2 separate regions of the Homo sapiens genome follow, and region 2 is linked to region 1. The links are contacts of gene promoters, found by promoter capture Hi-C in blood cells and fetal thymus (Javierre and others, 2016). All regions are on one chromosome and are shown on one strand. Each heading gives the region's core, a stretch centred on a gene start or on the middle of the fragment in contact. The rest is flanking DNA. Distances are from core to core; before and after follow the strand shown. Region 1 holds the start of CEP295 (centrosomal protein 295). Region 2 holds the start of FUT4 (fucosyltransferase 4).

Region 1 (4,253 bases), core at 142-2,641:
ATCTCACATGCAATTGTTTGTCAAGTACTGCTAATTTTGTGTCCTAAGTTTCTGAAATGCATCCCTTTGTCTAGATATCTCATAAACAGCTCAAATTCAAAATATTCAAAGCTTAACTTATTACTTCTCCCTCCTGGTTCTCTTCATGTGTGTTCCAGGAGGATGTTATCACTATCTACCCAGGTGCTAGGTATCTGGGACTTGGGCATCACCCTTGTTTTCTCCTCTTGTGCCTCCCATAACCAGGTAACCACCAATTCCTGATGTTTGGCTTCCTATTCAATCTACTCACCTCTCTCCATTCTCATTGCTATTATCTTTCACTTTCTGTAGTAGTATACGGCCTTCTGTCTTCACTCTCTCTGACCTTTTCCCCACTGTGCAGCCAGATCTGATCGTGTCAGCAACTTCCCATCCCCACCCCCCATTTTTAATCCTTTGATTCCTGATGTTTAACCCCCATGACCCAGACTGCAAAATCTAGTATAGGCATCATAATCCATCCAGAGTAACATAATGTACTCGGCACATAACAGATACTCAATAGGTATTAACCTGTGCTCACCGCCTGATTATTGGTTATTTACAGCAGATAAATCCGTGAGGTGCTCTCCGTGCGCTGTACCTCTGGAGGCACAGGGTAACATACGGCTCATTGTTGTTATGAGCTGGAGGCCTTAAATGAAAGCTATAAGACGTTAACTGCGCATAATAGTACCAATGAATTCCGTAGTCAGTACAGAAAAGGATGCATATCCCAAGATATCTTCATGATGGGGCCTTAAAACAAAAGTCACCCTCATGGCTCTGCACTTTTTTTTTTTTTTTTTAGACAGGCTTTGGCTCTGTCGCCCAGGCTGGAGTGCAGTACTGGCGGGATCTCGGCTCACTGCAACCTCCACCTCCTGGGTTCAAGCGATTCTCCTGCCTCAGCCTCCCGAGTAGCTGGGATTACAGGCGCCCACCACCACGCACGGCTAATTTTTGCTGTTGTCGTATTTTTTGTAAAGATGAGGTTTCACCATGTTTTTAAAAGGACTTGGTCTTGAACTCATAACCAAAAATACATAACCTCGAACTCTTGGGCTCAAGTGATCCTCCCGCCTTGGCCTCCCAAAGTGCTGGGATTACAGGCGCGAGCCACCGAGCGCGGCCCATACGGGAAAACGTCAAAGCCTGACAGGTGTGACAAATAATGGGCCCCTAGGCAGGCTGGGGCTGGCGCGTGCCTGTGCGCGTGCGCGGGGCGCGGGGTTTTTAACACCGCGCAGCCTTCCCGGCGGCCCCCGAGGAAGGCGGGACAGGGCCTATTCCCGCGGTTTGGTCCGGCCATTGGCGGGCGGTTTGAATGACGGAAGTGACGGCGGCTCGGCGATGGCTCTCCCGCAGGCGCAGAAACGGCTGCTGGGCAGCTGATGGGCAGGAGCTTACCAGGCTGGCTTGCTCTGAGCTGCGGTTACTGTGTCCAGGCCCCGGGTTCTCAGGTGAGTCAGGGATGCACTGGCTTCCCAGTCGCCCCGTAGGAGCATGACTCCCCGAGGCCCAAGAGCTGGGATTGTATTCCGGAGGAATGGGATCCCAGGAAGGCGCCTTGTTGCGAACGCAGGTACGGCTCGCGTTTCTCAGGCTCCGCAGGCCGTGGGCCCTGCCCGCGGTCGGGCTGGCGGCTGTAAGGAGTGTCCGGACCAGACCCGGTAACTCAGTGCGAGAGGCTTTGCGCGCTCTCCTGGGGTCGGGTCGCGCGAGCTTCCCACGCAGCCTCCCCTGTCGCGGAGCTTCCGTGTCGGGGGAGGGGCGCTTCCCCCAGATCACCCGCGGACATGGCCTGCCACCTGGTAGCTGTTAAAAGAGCCTTGCCTGGATCGTTTCATGCAAAGAGCACGCTCTCTTTTGGTGTCTGCCACCTTAATCTCACAGTTATTCAATCCTGTCACAAACTCAACTTTTAAAACAATGGTGAACTTTTGAGTCCTTAATACTTAGAGTGTATTTGAAGACTTCACGCTAAGTCACATAGACGTCAGAACAAACCTTTTGGGGTAGATATTATTATTCCCTTTATACAGTTTAAGAAAACGAAACCAAAGTGACTTCAGTGACTTGGCCAGTATCTTCCTGCTAATAAGTGGCAGTGTTGGGTCTTGAACCCAGATCTTCCAAGTTTAGTGTTAATTTTGTGATTACTATGTACCAGGAGCCATTTAATCCTCAGGACGAAATCTTGCAAGATAAGTAGTATAATCTTCAATATTGGATAGTAATAAAATGTAGAATTTAAAAATCCATATTACTAAGAATAAATAATTAATAAACAAGTAAATGGGGCAGCAGGGAAAACTTCCTTACAGCAGGATTCCGATTGATAATTGTAGAAGGAATAATGGAAATAGAAAATACTATTTGGTAAACACCACAGTAGTTGTTTCAGACAACAGTCATCAATGGATACTAACGTCAATGGGCAAAAGTATGATGAAAAGCATATTTCTGTAGCCTCTACTCTGTCTTCATGAGATATTTATAAAGGAAAAGTAGTAACTACAGAGGAGAAACCTGGTGGACATCATCTTAACCAAGTGACCAAAATTCAGCATCATTTACCTCTTGATAACAATGCACTGAAAAGGTGCCTAATCAATTCTGTGGTGTTCTTGCCAAAAATACATAACCTCAGTTTAATCACATAAGATTAGACAAATCTAAATGGAGGGACATTCAACAAAGTACTTGGCCAGTATTTTCAAAAATGACAGGGTCTTGAAAAGACAGACTGAGAAACTGTCCCAGATTAAGGGGGACATGACAACTTTGACATGAGAATGTAACTCACATATCTTAATCTCCTGCATTCTGAAATCTCCATTTGCACTGAGGCCATGCTTCCCATGGGCTGCTCCTAGCCACTGACAGTGGCAGGCCTGTTCCTGAGAATCTCCCCACGGGTTCTTGCTGAACATTTCTTATACTGCATGGCTGTCTAAGAGGGGTCTACCCATTGTTACTTCCCTCCATTCAGTGTTAGACTTACACTGAAGTCTGAGGCGCTTGTAACTTTTATCAGCTCCCTCCCATTTTCCCTCACACACGCATTTCTCCTAATAAAATATTTGCAGGTTTACTCCCATCTTAGCGTCTGCTTTTTAGATGACACACAGTTACACAGCAACAAATGCAATGTGTTATATCCTTGGATTGGCTTCTGGTCCAGAAAATAGACATTAGTGTGATAATTGACAAAAATTGAATACTGCCTGTAGATTAGTAAAAAATATTGTGTCAGTGTTAATATTCAGATTTTGATCATTGTACCATGGTTATGTACAAGACGTTGACATTTGGAGAAGCTGGGGAAAGGGCAAATGGGAATTCTAAGCCTGAAATTTCCAAATAAAAAGTTTAAAAAATTTAAAAATTATACACAAGAAGAAACAGTTATTCTATCGCATTTTAGGAGCTTAAAAATAATAAATGTTTATATGTTTTTCAATAATCCTCTGAGATGAAGTAATGGATACCTAAAATTTGAAATATTAGGATTTTTTTCCTCTTAAAGTATAAGAATAAAACACAAATCTAGGTATACCATTTGAGGAATTTTTACATATGTATACACTTGTCTAAACCATCATACAGATCAAAATATATAAATTTTCAGTACCCCAGCAAGCTTCTTTGTGCCATCTCCGAGTCAGTAACTTCCAGTAAGGTAACTTTATTTTTACCTCTCATGGATTAGTTCTGCTTGTTCTTGAACTTTATATAAATCAATTTTGTTGTACTTTTTTGTGTCTGGCTTTTTAAAAATTCAGCAATATTATGTCTATGAGATTCATCAGGAATTAGTCTTAATTATTTAAATATGAGGGAATTTCTTAGACCTTCAGACAAAATAATAAAGATACATTGTGAAGATTAATCTTGTTCTTTTTTCTTCTTTGTTAAATTTTCTGTTTTTTAAATTCTCACTCTCAAAAAACAACAGCTTAAATAAAATTTTCGCCACTCCACATATTTTTGTGTGTTGGAAAGTTAGGAGCCATTTGGAATAAGGAAACCAGATTCTTCCCTTGGCTCCGCCACTAGATGTTGTCACTCAGGGAAAGTCCTTTAACCCAAGAGGCCTTGTTTCTTCATGTATAGCATGAAAAATATAATCAGTACTTTAGTTACCATTACCAAAGCCGTGTGAATATTAGATGAGTAGGATGCATTAAAAGATTTTTTTAATGCCAGCAGTTAGTCCTTTTTGGTGT
Region 2 (4,557 bases), core at 412-2,911, 880 kb after region 1:
ATAAATGGCTGGATTCTTGAATTGCATAAAAAGAGAAGCCAATACACTTTTTCCTTTATTTCGTTTAAACAAGTAATTTGTGCATTTATAGCTTTTTCTTTTAATTAAAAGTAAGAGTGGAAAAAAGTCACTGAAATGTCTAATTTCAAATAAAATATTTGATTTCTAATTTCTGTTTTTCAAACAAACAAAAAACCCCAGAAGCATTATGAAAGGTTTTACTGTGCAGGAGGAAATGTTACTAGGTTGATGGGCCTAGCCAGAACACCTAACATCCTCCATCTAGTCTCCAAACTGAGGCTGTGGCCCTGCAGAGAGCGCCACCCGGAAGCCACTTTTATAGAAGCTTTTACACACAATGCTTGATTTTTTTTTTTTTTTTTCCGAGACGGAGTCTCGCTTTGTCGCCCAGGCTGGAGTGCAGTGGCGCGATCTGGGCTCACTGCAAGCTCCGCCTCCTGGGTTGACGCCATTCTCCTGCCTCAGCTTCCCGAGTAGCTGGGACTACAGGCGCCCGCCACCAAGCCTGGCTAATTTTTTTTTATTTTTAGTGGAGACAGAGTTTCACCGTGTTAGCCAGGATGGTCTCGATCTCCTGACCTCGGGATCCGCCCGCCTCGGCCTCCCAAAGTGCTGGGAGTATAGGCGTGAGCCACCGCGCCTGGCCTATACTTGATTTTTAATGAAAACATTCTTAAATTCATATGGCTAACGCAAATTTATTTTCTGTAGGCATAACATCAAAAACACCTGGCAGGATTGCCCCATTCCCAGCACTGTCTATTTCTCCCCTAGTATCAGTGGGACTCCACTGATGCACAGCTGTGATCTACTAAAACTTCTCTCAAAACTTTCTCCTCTCCTTAGGTCAGCAGCCCCGCCCCTGATCTATTTGGAAATCCCCTGAATAAAAGTTGAATATCATAAACCAAAGCGAACACCCAGAAATTCAAATTCAACCCGTAGGTAAAAAATTTCTCAAGTGACTGTAGACGTAGATGTCTCCAGTGTCGCCTAATAAGGTAGAAGAGGCCAGTGCGATACTGTCTTTACACCCTTAACTTGGGTGCTAGAATATTTATCTTCGTCATCATTTTATCATCCAAACTATTTTGCATAACTTTCATGGGTGCAGAAAATGTTTTTTAAGTGCTTGGTAAAATTAATAGTGATATTCATTCATTCATCTCACTGAACAGGCAATAAATTCCTTGACGACAAGGGCCTTGGGGGGGTCACATCTTCATCTTTGGTTTATGAGTCCTGTGCGTCTTGGTACAAGCAATACTACTATGAGCCGGCAAGTCAGACTTATTTGGTAGGGGACCAAAGGAAAGAACATGTTTTGATTGCTAAGAAAACATTTTGTTCTCTATCCTTTACTGGGCTGGCAGGCAAAGGAAATGTTCTTATGAGCACTCACATTGAAAACTTAAGTTCTTCACCAAATGCAGAGACTCTGAAGGCCACGCCGCTGCGGGCTGCCTCCACAATTCGACCGTCTCGGCGGGCCACGAGATCCTGGCCACGGATGCGGTGGCCGCGCCTCTGCTCGCACGTTCCCCCGGCCTCTGGACTCCCTCCCTCCCTCAATCCCTCCCTCCGGCGGGCGTCGCTGGCGGGTGGCTAGGCCCAACGGCAGGAAGCCGACGCTATCCTCCGTTCCGCGGCGCCGGGTCCGCCTTCCGTCTGTTCTAGGGCCTGCTCCTGCGCGGCAGCTGCTTTAGAAGGTCTCGAGCCTCCTGTACCTTCCCAGGGATGAACCGGGCCTTCCCTCTGGAAGGCGAGGGTTCGGGCCACAGTGAGCGAGGGCCAGGGCGGTGGGCGCGCGCAGAGGGAAACCGGATCAGTTGAGAGAGAATCAAGAGTAGCGGATGAGGCGCTTGTGGGGCGCGGCCCGGAAGCCCTCGGGCGCGGGCTGGGAGAAGGAGTGGGCGGAGGCGCCGCAGGAGGCTCCCGGGGCCTGGTCGGGCCGGCTGGGCCCCGGGCGCAGTGGAAGAAAGGGACGGGCGGTGCCCGGTTGGGCGTCCTGGCCAGCTCACCTTGCCCTGGCGGCTCGCCCCGCCCGGCACTTGGGAGGAGCAGGGCAGGGCCCGCGGCCTTTGCATTCTGGGACCGCCCCCTTCCATTCCCGGGCCAGCGGCGAGCGGCAGCGACGGCTGGAGCCGCAGCTACAGCATGAGAGCCGGTGCCGCTCCTCCACGCCTGCGGACGCGTGGCGAGCGGAGGCAGCGCTGCCTGTTCGCGCCATGGGGGCACCGTGGGGCTCGCCGACGGCGGCGGCGGGCGGGCGGCGCGGGTGGCGCCGAGGCCGGGGGCTGCCATGGACCGTCTGTGTGCTGGCGGCCGCCGGCTTGACGTGTACGGCGCTGATCACCTACGCTTGCTGGGGGCAGCTGCCGCCGCTGCCCTGGGCGTCGCCAACCCCGTCGCGACCGGTGGGCGTGCTGCTGTGGTGGGAGCCCTTCGGGGGGCGCGATAGCGCCCCGAGGCCGCCCCCTGACTGCCGGCTGCGCTTCAACATCAGCGGCTGCCGCCTGCTCACCGACCGCGCGTCCTACGGAGAGGCTCAGGCCGTGCTTTTCCACCACCGCGACCTCGTGAAGGGGCCCCCCGACTGGCCCCCGCCCTGGGGCATCCAGGCGCACACTGCCGAGGAGGTGGATCTGCGCGTGTTGGACTACGAGGAGGCAGCGGCGGCGGCAGAAGCCCTGGCGACCTCCAGCCCCAGGCCCCCGGGCCAGCGCTGGGTTTGGATGAACTTCGAGTCGCCCTCGCACTCCCCGGGGCTGCGAAGCCTGGCAAGTAACCTCTTCAACTGGACGCTCTCCTACCGGGCGGACTCGGACGTCTTTGTGCCTTATGGCTACCTCTACCCCAGAAGCCACCCCGGCGACCCGCCCTCAGGCCTGGCCCCGCCACTGTCCAGGAAACAGGGGCTGGTGGCATGGGTGGTGAGCCACTGGGACGAGCGCCAGGCCCGGGTCCGCTACTACCACCAACTGAGCCAACATGTGACCGTGGACGTGTTCGGCCGGGGCGGGCCGGGGCAGCCGGTGCCCGAAATTGGGCTCCTGCACACAGTGGCCCGCTACAAGTTCTACCTGGCTTTCGAGAACTCGCAGCACCTGGATTATATCACCGAGAAGCTCTGGCGCAACGCGTTGCTCGCTGGGGCGGTGCCGGTGGTGCTGGGCCCAGACCGTGCCAACTACGAGCGCTTTGTGCCCCGCGGCGCCTTCATCCACGTGGACGACTTCCCAAGTGCCTCCTCCCTGGCCTCGTACCTGCTTTTCCTCGACCGCAACCCCGCGGTCTATCGCCGCTACTTCCACTGGCGCCGGAGCTACGCTGTCCACATCACCTCCTTCTGGGACGAGCCTTGGTGCCGGGTGTGCCAGGCTGTACAGAGGGCTGGGGACCGGCCCAAGAGCATACGGAACTTGGCCAGCTGGTTCGAGCGGTGAAGCCGCGCTCCCCTGGAAGCGACCCAGGGGAGGCCAAGTTGTCAGCTTTTTGATCCTCTACTGTGCATCTCCTTGACTGCCGCATCATGGGAGTAAGTTCTTCAAACACCCATTTTTGCTCTATGGGAAAAAAACGATTTACCAATTAATATTACTCAGCACAGAGATGGGGGCCCGGTTTCCATATTTTTTGCACAGCTAGCAATTGGGCTCCCTTTGCTGCTGATGGGCATCATTGTTTAGGGGTGAAGGAGGGGGTTCTTCCTCACCTTGTAACCAGTGCAGAAATGAAATAGCTTAGCGGCAAGAAGCCGTTGAGGCGGTTTCCTGAATTTCCCCATCTGCCACAGGCCATATTTGTGGCCCGTGCAGCTTCCAAATCTCATACACAACTGTTCCCGATTCACGTTTTTCTGGACCAAGGTGAAGCAAATTTGTGGTTGTAGAAGGAGCCTTGTTGGTGGAGAGTGGAAGGACTGTGGCTGCAGGTGGGACTTTGTTGTTTGGATTCCTCACAGCCTTGGCTCCTGAGAAAGGTGAGGAGGGCAGTCCAAGAGGGGCCGCTGACTTCTTTCACAAGTACTATCTGTTCCCCTGTCCTGTGAATGGAAGCAAAGTGCTGGATTGTCCTTGGAGGAAACTTAAGATGAATACATGCGTGTACCTCACTTTACATAAGAAATGTATTCCTGAAAAGCTGCATTTAAATCAAGTCCCAAATTCATTGACTTAGGGGAGTTCAGTATTTAATGAAACCCTATGGAGAATTTATCCCTTTACAATGTGAATAGTCATCTCCTAATTTGTTTCTTCTGTCTTTATGTTTTTCTATAACCTGGATTTTTTAAATCATATTAAAATTACAGATGTGAAAATAAAGCAGAAGCAACCTTTTTCCCTCTTCCCAGAAAACCAGTCTGTGTTTACAGACAGAAGAGAAGGAAGCCATAGTGTCACTTCCACACAATTATTTATTTCATGTCTTTACTGGACCTGAAATTTAAACTGCAATGCCAGTCCTGCAGGAGTGCTGGCATTACCCTCTGCAGAACAGTGAAAGGTATTGCACTACATTATGGAATCATGCAAA

The links. The method cuts DNA at HindIII sites, captures the fragments that hold promoters and counts their contacts. A CHiCAGO score of 5 or more calls a contact.
Region 2: the fragment with the promoter of FUT4 here is called in contact with the fragment with the promoter of CEP295 in region 1 in 1 of 17 cell types (total CD4 T cells); the score reaches 5.4 in total CD4 T cells.

The regions. Positions count from the first base shown.
Region 1 is chr11:93,660,291-93,664,543 of GRCh38, forward strand. It overlaps CEP295 (centrosomal protein 295), which reads left to right and starts at 1,392. Exons shown (of 30, transcript NM_033395.2): 1 at 1,392-1,484. RefSeq lists a silencer at 1,156-1,225 and an enhancer at 1,386-1,515. The HindIII fragment of the contact is 3,556 bases long and covers 110-3,665 here.
Region 2 is chr11:94,542,260-94,546,816 of GRCh38, forward strand. FUT4 (fucosyltransferase 4) reads left to right here and starts at 1,662. Exons shown (of 1, transcript NM_002033.4): 1 at 1,662-4,557. The coding sequence starts at 1,875. The coding sequence ends at 3,467. PIWIL4-AS1 (PIWIL4 antisense RNA 1) reads right to left here. Exons shown (of 5, transcript NR_135093.1): 5 at 3,073-3,587. RefSeq lists a silencer at 1,850-2,419 and an enhancer at 3,239-3,913. The HindIII fragment of the contact is 5,462 bases long and covers 345-4,557 here.